2 separate regions of the Homo sapiens genome follow, and region 1 is linked to region 2. The links are contacts of gene promoters, found by promoter capture Hi-C in human tissues and cell types (Jung and others, 2019). All regions are on one chromosome and are shown on one strand. The core of a region is centred on a gene start or on the middle of the fragment in contact, and the rest is flanking DNA. Distances in the headings are between cores, read along the strand shown. Region 1 overlaps LOC105379340 (a long non-coding RNA gene). Region 2 holds the start of ADRA1A (adrenoceptor alpha 1A).

Evidence for each region. The method cuts DNA at HindIII sites, captures the fragments that hold promoters and counts their contacts. A contact is called where the count stands out against the background at its distance.
Region 1: a contact is called between a fragment that was not itself captured here and the fragment with the promoter of ADRA1A in region 2, in 1 of the 25 tissues and cell types used here (small bowel).

What each region holds. Positions count from the first base shown.
Region 1 is chr8:27,208,406-27,215,752 of GRCh38, forward strand. It overlaps LOC105379340 (a long non-coding RNA gene), which reads left to right. Exons shown (of 5, transcript XR_949607.3): 5 at 1,637-2,378. Among named protein-coding and RNA genes, the nearest start is that of STMN4, 46 kb to the right of the region's middle. The HindIII fragment of the contact is 6,971 bases long and covers 671-7,347 here.
Region 2 is chr8:26,863,160-26,869,749 of GRCh38, forward strand. ADRA1A (adrenoceptor alpha 1A) reads right to left here and starts at 4,119. Exons shown (of 3, transcript NM_000680.4): 1 at 3,777-4,119; 2 at 928-2,496. The coding sequence starts at 1,810. RefSeq lists an enhancer at 2,389-3,340. The HindIII fragment of the contact is 8,811 bases long and covers 1-6,590 here.

The sequences.
Region 1 (7,347 bases), core at 2,906-5,405, 350 kb after region 2:
CACTGCAGTCTGGCCTTTTTGGAGGAAGCTTTTCCTACCCTCCCAGACTAGGTCAGGTCTCCCAGGTGCACATCCTCTTAGCGCCATGTCCTTCCCTACAGAGAACTTATCATTTTTATTCCAGCCTAATTTTCAGGTATTTTTTCTGTCTTCCCCTCCAGTCTCTTTGCTCCATGAACAAAGGCCACAACTGTATTTACCCAGCGTTGTCTCTCAGCACCTAGCACAATGTCTAGAACAGGCACTCAAAACATTGTTTGGTTTCCCTGTATACTGAGATACTCTTCCCACCCACCATGCAATTTTTCCCTAGTGAGCTCGTGGCATTCAGTAATACCATTTGCATAAGCACAGAAGGATCTAGGCTTTGCTGGATGTCTTTGGCTTTTCATTAATACATCATCAGTCAGACACCTGAATTATTAGAGGTTACATAGCACCAATTATGGGAGGGGGAACAGTGGAAGAACAAGTTGCAGAGGCTGCACCTGAGTGGCTCTGTTGAAGAGAGGAGGATGTCAGAGCCTACAGTTACCAGACACCGTGCTCCTTCAATCCTGTTGATTTACCATCTCTAATGTATTTCTTCATGGTTTAAGTTGCCTGCTTTGCTGTTTGAAGATGCAGCCTGGGCAATCTGAAATAACTTTTGAATTAAGAGATTTGAACTGAAATGTTGCCCTTACCACTGTGTGATCTGTATGATCTTGGAAGAGTCATGTTCTCTCTCTAAGCATGAATTTCCTCGTCTGGCAAATGAAGGATATGGACTAATGGTCTCTAAGGGATTGTCCAGCCCAAAAGTCTATGATTAAATGAAGGAAACATTAAGTCAATAGATTTGTCAAGAACATGTCAGGATATTATGCCACTATAGTTTTTTTGTTTGTTTGTTTGTGATGGAGTCTCACTCTGTCACCCAGGCTGGAGTGCAGTGGCACGATCTTGGCTAACTGCAACCTCCACCTCCCGGGTTCGAGCAATACTCCTGCCTCAGCCTCTGGAGTAGCTGGGACTACAGGCATGCACCACCATGCCCAACTAATTTTTGTATTTTAGTAAAGATGGGGTTGGCCAGGCTGGTCTCGAACTCCTGACCTCAGGTGATACACCCGCCTCAGATGGATCTCAAAGTCCTGGGATTACAGGCATGAGCCACCATGCCTGGCCTACTATAGTTTTGACTGGAGAATGATGAACATTCTGGGCTCCCCATTTAATCAGCAATATCTGGAATAATAACTGCTTCAGAATTGCCAATTAGCAGGGATAGGTTCAGTCACAGTCTAGTCCTGAATATGAAACCTGGAAGCTTTCTTGTGGGGGAGGCATTATATTGGCTTCCTACCCAATAGCTGTTCCATGCATCTTCGTTACTGACAGCCTGACCTCCTACTTTATTCTCAACATAGAGACTAGAAGTGTCAATGTTCTCTCTACCAGGAGAATTCTTCCCAAAACAGGGTCCCAGAGCCTACAGATAGCTCCAGAGATTGAAGTTGGCATAAGAAATGAAAATATTTTGCCATCTCCAGCCTAACCCATGTCAGATAAAAATCCACCACCTATTTTTCTCAACCCATCTCCTCCTTCTTTTCCCCAATCCGCTAAACACCTCTTTGGTCTTCTCTTTTAGCCACCTACTCAAACCTTTGATCTGGAATGCCACAAATCTAAGAGATCTTCTATCCGGTGACAACAGCTCTTTGCAGACATTGCAAAGTCCTTTTCTGGTTTAAGCTCTGCCTCTGCCATGTGTTGTAATCAGCACAGAATGACAAGGGGTGAGCAGCAGTGTTAGAACAGATGTGACACACCTGCAGCCTACCACTGCAGCCTGGCCTTTTTGGAGGAAGTCTTCCCTACTTTCTACCAGCCTGGCAACCTGAACATAGAACATGACCACATGAGTCCAGAAGACCTGAAGAGAAGTGTACAGATTTGGGTTTTCTTCCCAAAGAAGAAGAGGTGGGCAGGAGAAACTTCTTCCTGCTTGTGGATGCAGTTGTGCGAGAATATAATTCCCAAAGCAACAACAGCAGCCACTTTGTGACCACGAGGTAACCAACCCAAATGGAAGCCAATGTGGTAAGGAAGGCAGAACAAAATTTGTTTAATACAGATTTTTAATGATCTTATTAAGCTCTTCGAACCAAGTTTGGAACTACCTTCCTCAGAATGAAAAAAACAAAAACAACTGGGAATTCTGTATCCGAGATGCTTGTAGCCCGCCTTTCTAGCATAGGGTACATTCACTCCAGCTGGTTTACCTCTTGCTATCAAAATACATAGGGCCTTTGTTGGTTGTTTGGATTTCCTCTCAGTGTTGTGCAGACCAACAAAATTTGGGGGTATATTAAAGTAAATATGCTTTAAAATTAGTGGTTGCACTGTGTTCTTATTTAACACATCCATTCAGGAAGGAATATGATTATGAGCATGGATTTTGATCAGATCGCCTAAATTTAAAACTCACATCCACCTCTTACTAATTTTGGGATCTAAGGAAAGTTACTAAACACTCTACCTCGGTTCCCTTATGTGTAAAGTGAGGCTATTACTGGTATTTACCAGAAGAGCTGTTATGAGGCTTTCGTGAGTTAACACATAATGTGCTTAGGACAATGCCTAGGTTAGAGTAGCTGCTCCTTAAAGCTAGCAATTACAGCCACCCCTCTGCATCCACAGATTCTGTATCCGTAAATTCAACTGTAGATCAAATATATATTTTAAAAAAAGGATGGTTGCATCTATACCGAACATGTGCAGATTTTTCTCTTGTCATTATTCCCTAAACAATACAGTCTAACAACTACTTACGTAGCATTTACGTGGTATTAGGTATCATAAGTAATCTAGAAACGATGTAAAATATATTGGAGACTGTGCAGTTTTTTGTTTGGGGGGTTTTTGGGGTTTTTGTATGTTTCTTTTTTTTTTTTGAGACAGAGCCTCTGTCACCTAGGCTGGAGTGCAGCGGCAAGATCTCGGCTCACTGCAACCTTCGCCTCCCGAGTTCAAGTGATTCTCCTGCCTCAGCCTCCGAAGTAGCTGAGATTACAGGTGTGTGCCACCGGGCCTGGCTCATTTTTGTATTTTTAATAGAGATGGAGTTTTGCCATGTTGGCCAGGCTGGTCTTGAACTCCTGACCTCAGATGATCCGCTCGCCTCAACCTCCCAAAGTGCTGGGATTACAAGCGTGGGCCACCGGGACTGGTCTTGCACAGTTTACATGCAAATACTACAGCATTTTCTACCAGGGACTTGAGCATCCTTGGGTTTTGATATCTTCAGGGATCCTGGAGCCAATCCCCCATGGATACCACCGAGGGATGCCTGTTCTTCATACCCTTGACTGTATAATTTTGGGTGAATTACTTAAAATTCCCTGAGTCCTGGTTTGCTCATCTATAAAATGAGAACTATCATACTGCAACTGCACTCATATTTCTTGTGAGAGTTCATGCTGATACCCAGTACCGTGCCTTAATACGGAAACTCAGTGTAAAAATGCTACTTCATCCTCACTGAAGTCAGAATGTTTTTGTTGGCATATCAACAGAGCGTAAAATATTTTGGAGAATTGCTGTAAGCAAGAGTCCTGGTGCTGCTAAATGAATTATGGAATGATTTGTTTCCATTGTGTTACATTTTAAGGCAACGGGATCTGTGATTCAAAGAAATTCTTGGGCAAAGCAAATATCCTCTAATTTATCTTTTCTGCAAACGGGGATTTTCATATATCAGATTTGCCTGAAGAAAAAATTGCTTATACTGGATACGTGCTTGTAACCAGAGAACATTGAGAAACATTTCTCTCAAACATCCAGTTGCAGCATTCATAGAATTCAGGGTTTGGGGCTCCCTCCCAAGTACACTGCATGTATGCTTCTTGTTTCTACATGGGAATCTGAGTTTTAATTTTGTATTTTCCCCTCAGTGAGCAGGTAAATAAGTATGGCAGTGACCCCAGAGCTTGGCAGTTTTGTACAGCTAAAAGAAGAACAACGTTAGAATCTGATGAGCACTTAATGAATGGCCATCCTGTATACTTCCGCACACCCCTGAGCAAGTTACCTCTAGTTTTCTCACTAGTAATAAAGTGGAAATATGTCTACCTCCTTTTATTTTTAGGAGGATCAATACAAATTGTATATTTGAAATACCCGTTCTGCACATGGACACAGGGAGGGGAACATCACACACTGGGACCTGTCGGGGTTGGGAAGCAAGGGGAGGGAGCGCATTAGGACAAATAGCTAATGTATGCGGGGCTTAAAACCTAGATGATGGGTTGATGAGTGCAGCAAACCACCATGGCACATATATACCTATGTAACAAACCTGCACATTCTGCACATGTATCCCAGAACTGAAAGTAAAATAAAATAAATAAATAAATAAATAAATAAAATACAAACATTATATATGTGTTTTACATTATGTATTATATAAAATTAGTAGACAAAATTAACTCTTTTCTTTGCTATTATGTTTAAACTGGGGAAAATGACATTTTGAATTGTGTTCTATGCAATTTTTAAATTTGAAAAATCATTGTTTTAGGTAAAAAGATTGACATTAATTTAAAATCCTAGTTCAGTATCTATTTTGTATTTCATAAGGTTAACTTTTGAAAATATTTACTTTTCACACCAAGAATTCTGGACCATCTTCTTGTTTTATTTGGTATTTGGTATTAAATAAGGCATTATCTTTAAATAACCAATCATCTGAAAGTATTTAGTTTTGAAAAATAAAAATATCTTAAAACCGATAGTTTATTGATTATTAGCCTTGTGATGATTATATGGATATTTAAAGTTAATTGAATGTGTATTTTGAACCCAACATTCCTAGAATGGGGGGAATAAAAATAATTTATATAAAGCAAAAAATAAAGTAATACCTGTTCTGTTATAAATCATAGCTATTATTACTTACAATATTATATTTAGCACCTACTTTGGAGACATGGTGAGGGCATGGGATAAAAATATGAAAGAGTGATGTGTCCTTTAAAATATCTCTTAGCTCTTTCTCCCCACAATAGGTTCTGTGTTCATCCTGAAAAAAGCTTAAAGACAGCTGAAGAAGGAAGTTAACTTTTCCACTCTTCTCTCAGCCAGGGACCAGTGAGATGGCCTGAGGCAAGTCATTTGAAATCTAGATTCACATATTCATAAAATTTTGGCAATAACATCCATTATTCTTATCACAAAGAAGTAACTTTAGTGTCAGATTGATGCAGTGAGGAAAACAGGAAGGAAGGAAGGAAGGAAGGAAGGAAGGAAGGAAGGAAGGAAGGGAGGGAGGCAGGGAGAGAGGGAAAGGAAGGAAAAAGGAAAAAAGTAATTCTAGAAAATACTTTTAAACAAAAATATTAGAAAATACTTAGAAAATATCTTAGAAAAATAGTTAGAAAATACTTAGAAAAAATCTTAGAAAATACTTTTAAACAAATTATTTATCTGATGCCCACATACAATTCCATAAAGTATGGAAATTAAAATAGCCTGGCTCTCTTTGTTATGAAACCCAAGCAGGATATTTTTATAGCCAAAGCCTATTGAACTCAAACAAACTGAAATGTTGATTATATTAAGCCACAATGCAACTGCCAAATAGCTAGTCAGGACAGACTCCCAGTTTCTGGTTCAGCATATAAAGAATTGAAAGTTGTTGGCTATGCTCATAACAAAAAAAAACACTGAACAAACTGAAAATCAGCAACTCTTCATAGATCCATCAGAGAATTGAGGTCATGGGGCAAATCACTGTCCCCAAAATTAAAGAAACAGACTGATACAGAGAATCACAACTTACCAGAGCAGAAACCTCTGTAGGAACCAGTATTGGAGCAGTAAAATCTAAACTGTAGCTGAAAGATTGCTGGGGGCTCAGCAAGAACAAGTCTTAGGGTTTAAAACTCCAGGAGAGGCCAGTCTTAGTGGAGCCCCCATGTTTTGTGAATTTTTCCTCCAGGATCTCTACCAGCTTCTCATAGTGAAGGTCAGAGAAAAATCCCCTCTTGCTTCCAGCAGGGAAAGGTAAAATAGCAATTTTGAAGTATGCCCAGAGAATTCTGTTCTTCATAACAAGTCCTACTCTCAAAATAAACTATTTTACCAGATCCTAACTGACTGGGGTTTTACTAAGGCCTAACCAATCTGGGGAAAGTGAAATACCAAAGTTCAGACATCTCTATCCTTCCTATCTCACCTAAGGAGGAGAGGACTGAGAAGCACTTGTATAGGTCACAGCCCAGGGTACAGGCTCACTAAATGACTGAATTATAATAATAAGACTTCAAGCACTCCCCTTTCCTCCACACCTCACTAATATATCAATAGAGCTCCTGTTTAATAACAGGGGGATACAACTGGAAGAAATGCATATCTCAGACCTTATTTAAGAAGAAGACTCTAGGGAAACCTAAAGACAGCAGGGGAGAGAAAACAAGGATGCCAGAAGAAATTTAGCCTCTGAGACCTACAACTATAGCAAACAGTAAACACAGTGTAACTCCTAGACAGATGAAGTCTCACATTAAAAGCCTGTTTACCACAGTTTCTTTTACCCAATAAATCATATCGAGCAAAGTATACTACAATCATGACAAAGTATGCTACAATACCAAAAACACATTCTGAAGACAGAGCAATCATCATAACCAGATTCAAATGTGGCAAATATATTGGAATTGTTAGACCAAGAATTTAAAACAACTATGGCTAATATACTAAGTGTTCTAATGGAGAAATTGGGAAAGATAAAAGAAAAGGTGGGCAATGTAATCAGAGAAATGGAAAAATCTAACAAATAATCACAAGGAAATGCTAGAGATAAAAAAACACTGTAACATAAATTAATAATTCCTTTGATGGGCTCATAAATTGACTGAACACTGCAAAGGGAAAACATCAGTGAGTTTGAAGAAAGTTCAATAGAAACTTCTAAAACTGAATGCAAAGATTAAAAAATATATATTAAAAACACAGACTAGAATATCCAAGAACTGTGAGACAATTACAAAAAGTATAAATATAAGTGGAGAAATGATAGTCTTTTCACCAAAAGGTGCTGGAACAATGGAATATATATATGCAAAAAATGAGCATCAATGTATACTCAGATGATATATTAAAAAAATTAATGCAAAATGGACCGTAGACTTAATTTAAACCTAAAGCTATAAAATGTCTAGAAGACAACACTGGAGAAAAATATCTGTGACCTCCAATTAGGTGAAAATTTCTTAGCTGTGACACTAAAAGCACAATCTATGAGAGAAAAAAAAAACTGATCAAACGGACTTCACTGACATTAAAAACTTCGAAAGAAAC
Region 2 (6,590 bases), core at 2,869-5,368:
TAATCGATGTTTGGGTCTGTATTTGAGCTTACAAACTAAAAATAGCACACAACCATTTTGGGATCTCATTGAAGGAGATAGATGTCTATTCCAAGTGGATCAGCTTGCTGATACTTATAATGAGCTAATTAATTTTGACAACAGCTAATTTAGCATCTGCAAAAATTGGATTTGTAACATTATGTGTACTGTATTATTTTCAAACAGTGTTATCTGCAACTTCCCGGATGATTTTGGATAAGAGAAGTGTTTGTTTTAATACTTATTATTAAAATAAAAAAATAAGTATTTACTTATTGGAAATACTATGATTAATTATTTAAGGCTTAAATTGGTTTGGACATAAAATCATTTTTTTTTCTTAGTGGCTGACCATAATTCCTTCCATACTGAATCCAGAAAATAAAATTAGCACAGATATAGAACATAAACAGACCATTATAACAAACCCTTATGAATAACCTAATGCAATAATAAAATCACACATTTGTCCAGAATAAGCATGGTACTTATTTTCAGGCCAAGAGAATTTGCATTCTGTAGCAGAGTGAAAATGGCATTCCACAGTCAGCCTAAGCACTTGGTGGAGACTCTGAGACTAGAGAGAGCAGATGCATTTAAATTGAACACGTGCTTATAGGCATTAAGAAAAGTTGACATTCTTATTAAAGAGACCAATTAATCTGCATCAGTTGGAAGCCACTTTACAGTCGAAAAAGTGCTCTAGGACCTAATATAAATGAGACTGGAGTAGAAAGAGAATGAAAATTCACTTTTCTACAAGGGAGCCTTTTCTAATTGCCCTAGAGCTGTGCTGTTTGAAATGCTAATCCTTCCTCTTCCATCCCGGACTGGGAGTCTGGGGTAACAGAAGCCGAGGAGGGTGAAGACCCCCAGATGCTAAAGTGAGGGGTGTTCAAGACTTACCAATGGGCATGACTAAGAAAAAAGGCAGCCAGCAGAGGACGAAGCAGCCGACCACGATGCCCAGCGTTTTGGCCGCTTTCTTCTCCCGGGAGAACTTGAGGAGCCTCACTGAGAAGTGCGTCTTGGTCTTGGCGCTGGCCATCCCGCTGCCTCCTGCCGGGGCGTTTTTCCGATGGATGCGGAGCGTCACTTGCTCCGAGTCCGACTTGTCGGTCTTGAGGCCAGACTTGAGGCCCCGGCTCTCCCTCTTGGCCACCACGTAGACGCGGCAGTACATGACCAGGATGATGGCCAGAGGCAGGTAGAAGGAGCCCAGCGCTGAGAAGAGCACGTAGCCCGGCTCCTCGTTGATCTGGCAGATGGTCTCGTCCTCGGGGGCCGGCTGCCTCCAGCCGAACAGGGGTCCAATGGATATGACCAGGGAGAGTGCCCAGACGCAGAGCAGAGCCATGAGACCCCTCCTCTGGGTGACGATGGTTGGGTAGCGCAGCGGGTAGCTCACGCCGATGTAGCGGTCGATGGAGATGATGCAGAGGCCCATGATGGACGCGGTGCAGCACAGCACATCCACTGCCGCCCAGATGTTGCAGAAGACCCTGCCGAAGGCCCAGTAGCCTAGGACCTCGAAGATGGCGGAGAAGGGCAGCACCGTGGAGGTGAGCAGGAGGTCGGCCACCGCCAGGTTGACGATGTAGTAGTGCGTGACTGAGTGCAGGTGTCGGTGACAGGCTACGGAGAGGATCACTAGGATGTTACCCAGCACCCCGAAAAGAATGAGGCCCCCCAAGATCACCCCGAGCAGAATGGCCTTGGAAATGTTCACCGGTGCCGGCGGTTGGGTGCAGTTGGAGCTGTCGGAAGCATTTCCCGAGAGAAACACCATGGTCCCAGCCGGGGCCGGGCGAGGTCCGGCTGTCCAGGGCCACCTCCCGGGCTGGCGCGGAGGCGGGAGCGCGGGAGCCGGGAATCAAAAGGTCTCGGCTGGAGGGAGCCCTGCCAGGTGGGTTTGGCTGGGGGTGAGAGCGCGCGCGCGGGTGGGAAACAACCCTGGCCAGCCCTGGGAACCCTCAGAAGGCCACATGAAGGGGCAGGGCATTAAAGACATGGCCAGGGGCGCGCGGGGCTGCCGGGGACCCTCTCCACCTGCCGGGCTGGCCTAGCCCGGGACCCGGACTCCCTCCCTACCCGAAGCTGGGTGCGAAGATCCAGGAGACTCCTTGCAACATGCAATTCCAGAATTACGAGAATCTGCTTTTCCGCGCTGTCTTATTCGTCCTGGCTGGGGGAAGATTCAGCATTCTGCACATGATTCGGAATTCAAAACTCCAGCGCCAGTCTCTCCCTCAAACCAAAAGATCAGCCGTCGACGCTCAAAGGCAGGGACCGATGGTTGGGTAGCGCAGCGCTACAGGTTGGGCGCTGCTCCTGGCCCGCAGTTACCTACATTTTGAGCTGCCCCACCGAAGGCTCCTGCTCTCTCCAGCTTCTAGGAGCACAGGTCAGGGGACGTAGGTGTGGAATATGTGCTGAGACCCAGGAGGCTGCGGGGCATCGTTTGACCGCGTCCACCTGAAAGAGCGCAAAGAGAAAGGCGGCTTTGAGCTAGGCGCCCCAGGGAAAGAGGCTGTGCTGAGCTTGACGGGTTGGGGGACACCAGTTGGGAGCCGGGTTGGTTCTGCGGTCCAGAAGCTGCTTCGCCCGGCAGCGGTGGAGGCGACTTCGGAGCTCATCTCGCGCCCCCACCACTGGGAACCTGCCTAGCGCACTCTACTGAGTCACCTCTGCCCGAGTTCAGGATCCGAAGCGAAAAACAAACAAAAAAACAAATCCCCAAAACCCCAGGCTCCAGCGCTCGAAGTCTGGATTTCGAGCGCAGGTACCACGAAATTAAAATCCTCGAAGCCCCGGAGGGGCGACTGCGGCTGGCGAGTGTGTCGCACGGATCCTAGCCGGGGAATTCTGGAGGATGTACTCGGTTTCCGTTAGAACAGGTTGCCTCGCAGTCACCTGGAGGGGGCGGCCTGGGAGAGGGAACAGCTGCGACCCAGGGACCTCAGGGCCAGGACCACGAGCACGCTCACTCTCACGCCGGTGGAATTCGCACTCGGGTGTGCAGAGCGCACCGGTCTGTCCACCAGCCAAGCTGGCTTGAGAGCCAGGTCCCGAGCGAAGCCGGGAGGGACCCGAAGACAGAAAGCGACCCAGGTCTGTCCACGACGCCTTTCCAAGCCTCACTGTTGGCCACCCGAGGGGCTCCAGCTGCCAGCCGTAGCGGGACTGGCGGGGGACGGGGTGGGGAGGACGTCCCTCTGCAGAGGGAGCTTTGCAAGTGACAGTCACTGCGGATTTTGCAGGCGTAAACATTAAGCCGGCATGCCAGCGGGCAGGGGCCGCCTTCGATTTTCTGGGCTGGGGGCCACCATCTGCGTAAGAAACCTGGGTTTCCACAACTGCGAACCTACCGCAGGGACTCGGCAGGACAGCGCGGCGTGAGGAAGTGCCCACCTTGCCTTCTGGGGTTGGGCCCTGAGGTGGGACCTCGGGCAAAGACTCTTGTTAAAATCGCAAGTTGGAGACCTCACAGGTGGTATTAAAAACGTGCCACTGCAGAAACCCTTTTCCTCCTACCTCGAGGGTGATAAACACAGGGTTAAAAAGACACTTGTTCAGTAGAAGGCAACTTCGCAGAAGATGTAAGGGAATCGGGGGTGGGGTAGAGGGGCCGGTATAAAACCTGGTGGAAAAAGCGGGAGGCGCTGGGAAAAGTGGGGGTTCCGTCTCACCAGACGGCGGGGGAGGTCTGCCCTCACCCACTCGGCCCTGCGGGACGCCGGCCCCGGCGCACTCACCTGAAGCGCCGCTGCTGAGCCACCAGCTCGCGCGCGGGGGATGTGGACCCGGCTTCGGTCCCGGGAGCTGCCTGCCTGCTCTTCTCTGGAGGCGGAGAGGGGACCGTGTCTCCGAGGCACCAAATCCTTGTCCTTTTGCACCCGCTGACTCACCCCTCCACCACTGATGTCTTTAAGCTCCTGAACCGCTGTCACTTTACCTGCATTTTTTAAAAAGAGTCAAAATAAGAAAAGAAAAAAAAATGCAGATAACCGGTAACTCCACAATCACCCTTTTAATATTCAGCTCCCCGACACCAGAAAAGAATAGCAAGGAACTTTGCAGCTCTCGCTGACGTAACTCAGGCAGTAGCCCAGCTAGTACCGTAATCTCCTGCTGCTACCGTATTACTCTACGGCAACAGGCACAAGTGCGTATACAGCTGTAATGTTTTCCTCTGGCCTAGAGGGGGTTGGGTTCTAGCGTTTCTTTAAAAAGGTTTGTGTGTGTGTGTGTGTGTGTGTGCGCGCGCGCGCGCGCGTGTGTGTGTGTAGAGTCATTTGTAGTAAATAACTTCTTTAAATGAGCTTTTAAAAATAACGAAAAATTGACACCCTTGCTAGATATTGCTGTGTGTATGGTGTGTTCATAGGAATGTGCTATAAAGTAACTTTGAACAGCTTGATTTGATTAACATTTGGCCTAGGTTTTGTTAAGATCAAGAAGTATATTAAGAATATTGTAATTCTAAATATGCAAGTAAATTATAAGGTGTTTTAAATAGCAAGTAAAATCAGATAAAATATGACAAATCTGATTGTAATGAAATTATATTTTCAGGAAGATAAAGTGGACATATCTAAACCTTATTTAATATGATTCACTTCTAATTTCTTTAGACAGATGAATTTTAAGAGCATTATGGCCACAGAGTTTGGTATTTTTTAAATGCCACACAATCTTTTCCAGTTTTCTTGAGAAAATGGTATCCTTTCAGGAGTGTTACTCTCTTTAATTCATTAATAGCTGGAGTATGAAAACCTAGCACCACCAGTCTTATTACTTTTTTTCTGGTAAATTACATAATCTGTTTACCTTGTGATTGAATAAAGTCACATGTGTTTCAGAATATCGGGAACATAGAAAAATGTTTCCCACTCCAATTCCCACCTCCTAAGTCATCTTTCATCTTTATTGATGCAGACAAAGTGGAATGTTCTTATTTACTAGGTCTCCTTAAACCTAGGAACAAGGAGATAACTTTAAGCAGTGGCACTTAAATTCTCTCCTGTGAACAAAATCATATTAATATGATTACCTTTTCTAAGTGAGATAATGTTTGGGAGGCTCTTTTATAGCAATAAATCTCAAAATGCCTCAGAGGAATGCCCATGAGAGGGTCAGTAAATCCTATGTCATGGAAGACCTAATATATGTATTTATTTCTCTATTGTATACAAAGTCCTCCACCTCTGCCTCATACCTGTAGGGATAGAACTCACACCTAACACATTTGATTTGAATTTAATATATTTTTAAAACTGAATTTCGTGCCATAGGAGGAGCATCCTGGTTGAACAGACAGCTCCACTTCTCATTACTAAGTCACCTGCTCTCTCTGGGATTCAGTCCCCTTAGGAGGAAGCTTGACCTCAATTCCCTGCACTTCTAGTACTTTATCATCAAATATGTGTATAATGTCTGTGCTTCCGAAATCCCATCCATCAGAGGGATATACACTGTTTTGTTTTGTATTCATTAACCTGATGCTGTGAATGCAAATTCTTCATTAAGATGTGTTCCATGGTAGATAAGGGAAGCAGTGCTATCAGCAAGCAAAGCAACTGAAAATTGCTCAGCTCTGCAAGGTCGAAAATTGCAAAAGTCTTTGTAACTCCCAGTCCCCACTCTACAACAATTAAGAATACACATAATCCACCCCTGCACCCACCTCCAATAATTAACTAGTTAATACTAAGATAAGGAAGAGCAGCTCTTCATGCTGCTAGCAGGTAGGTCTTTCAAATCTGCTTCTCAGCCTGTGACCATCAATCCTTGCAAAACGACCTCTCAGAACCAATTTTTCAGTCACCTACCATTGATTCACAAACAGAAAACTATCCATCTGTTGGTTACTCTTTAAAGAATAGTTGACGTGGACATCCCAGAAAGTGTCTGAGTTGTACACATGGGTAGGTGGAGTGGAGAGGAGTATGCTCTGGGGTCATAAAGATGCTATTCTGACCCTCCTATGCGACCATGGCAAAGCCTTGGTTTCCTAATTTTTAAAGGGAGACAATGAACCCCCACAAGGTTGTTATTAGTGTTGAAAGAAATTACGTTTCTCAAAAACTCAGCTCATAATATTCACTAACTCTATTATTAATCTTATTAACTCCCTTTCTGCTCATTTTGTATGCTACTTTATAGTGAAATATATTTCTAACCCAGGTAGTCCATGAACACTGGTAAATTCAGCTGGAGAATGTGCTAAGTGTCTTGAGCACTACACTTGAGCTAAGTGGTTTAATCAGAATGACCCAACATGGTTAAGTTGCAAGAGCTGGCCCTGATCACTGGCTGCTTCTTTTCTTCTCACTTTCCCCCTTGTTCTTTGTCTTGAGGGGCCATGCAAATGTGTGTGAACACCTCAGCCCCTACAGCCAGAAAGCTGCCTTCTTGGCCTCAGGCCTTGGGGTACACACATTTGTGATGTTGTCTGCCCAGAGAGAATGGACCTGAAAGTGATTGTGTGGCCATCTGGGGCAAGGGATTCTGAGTCCCAGGGCATGGTCTAGAAAGGAGGGCACAGGCTCCAGGTGGGCATATCACAT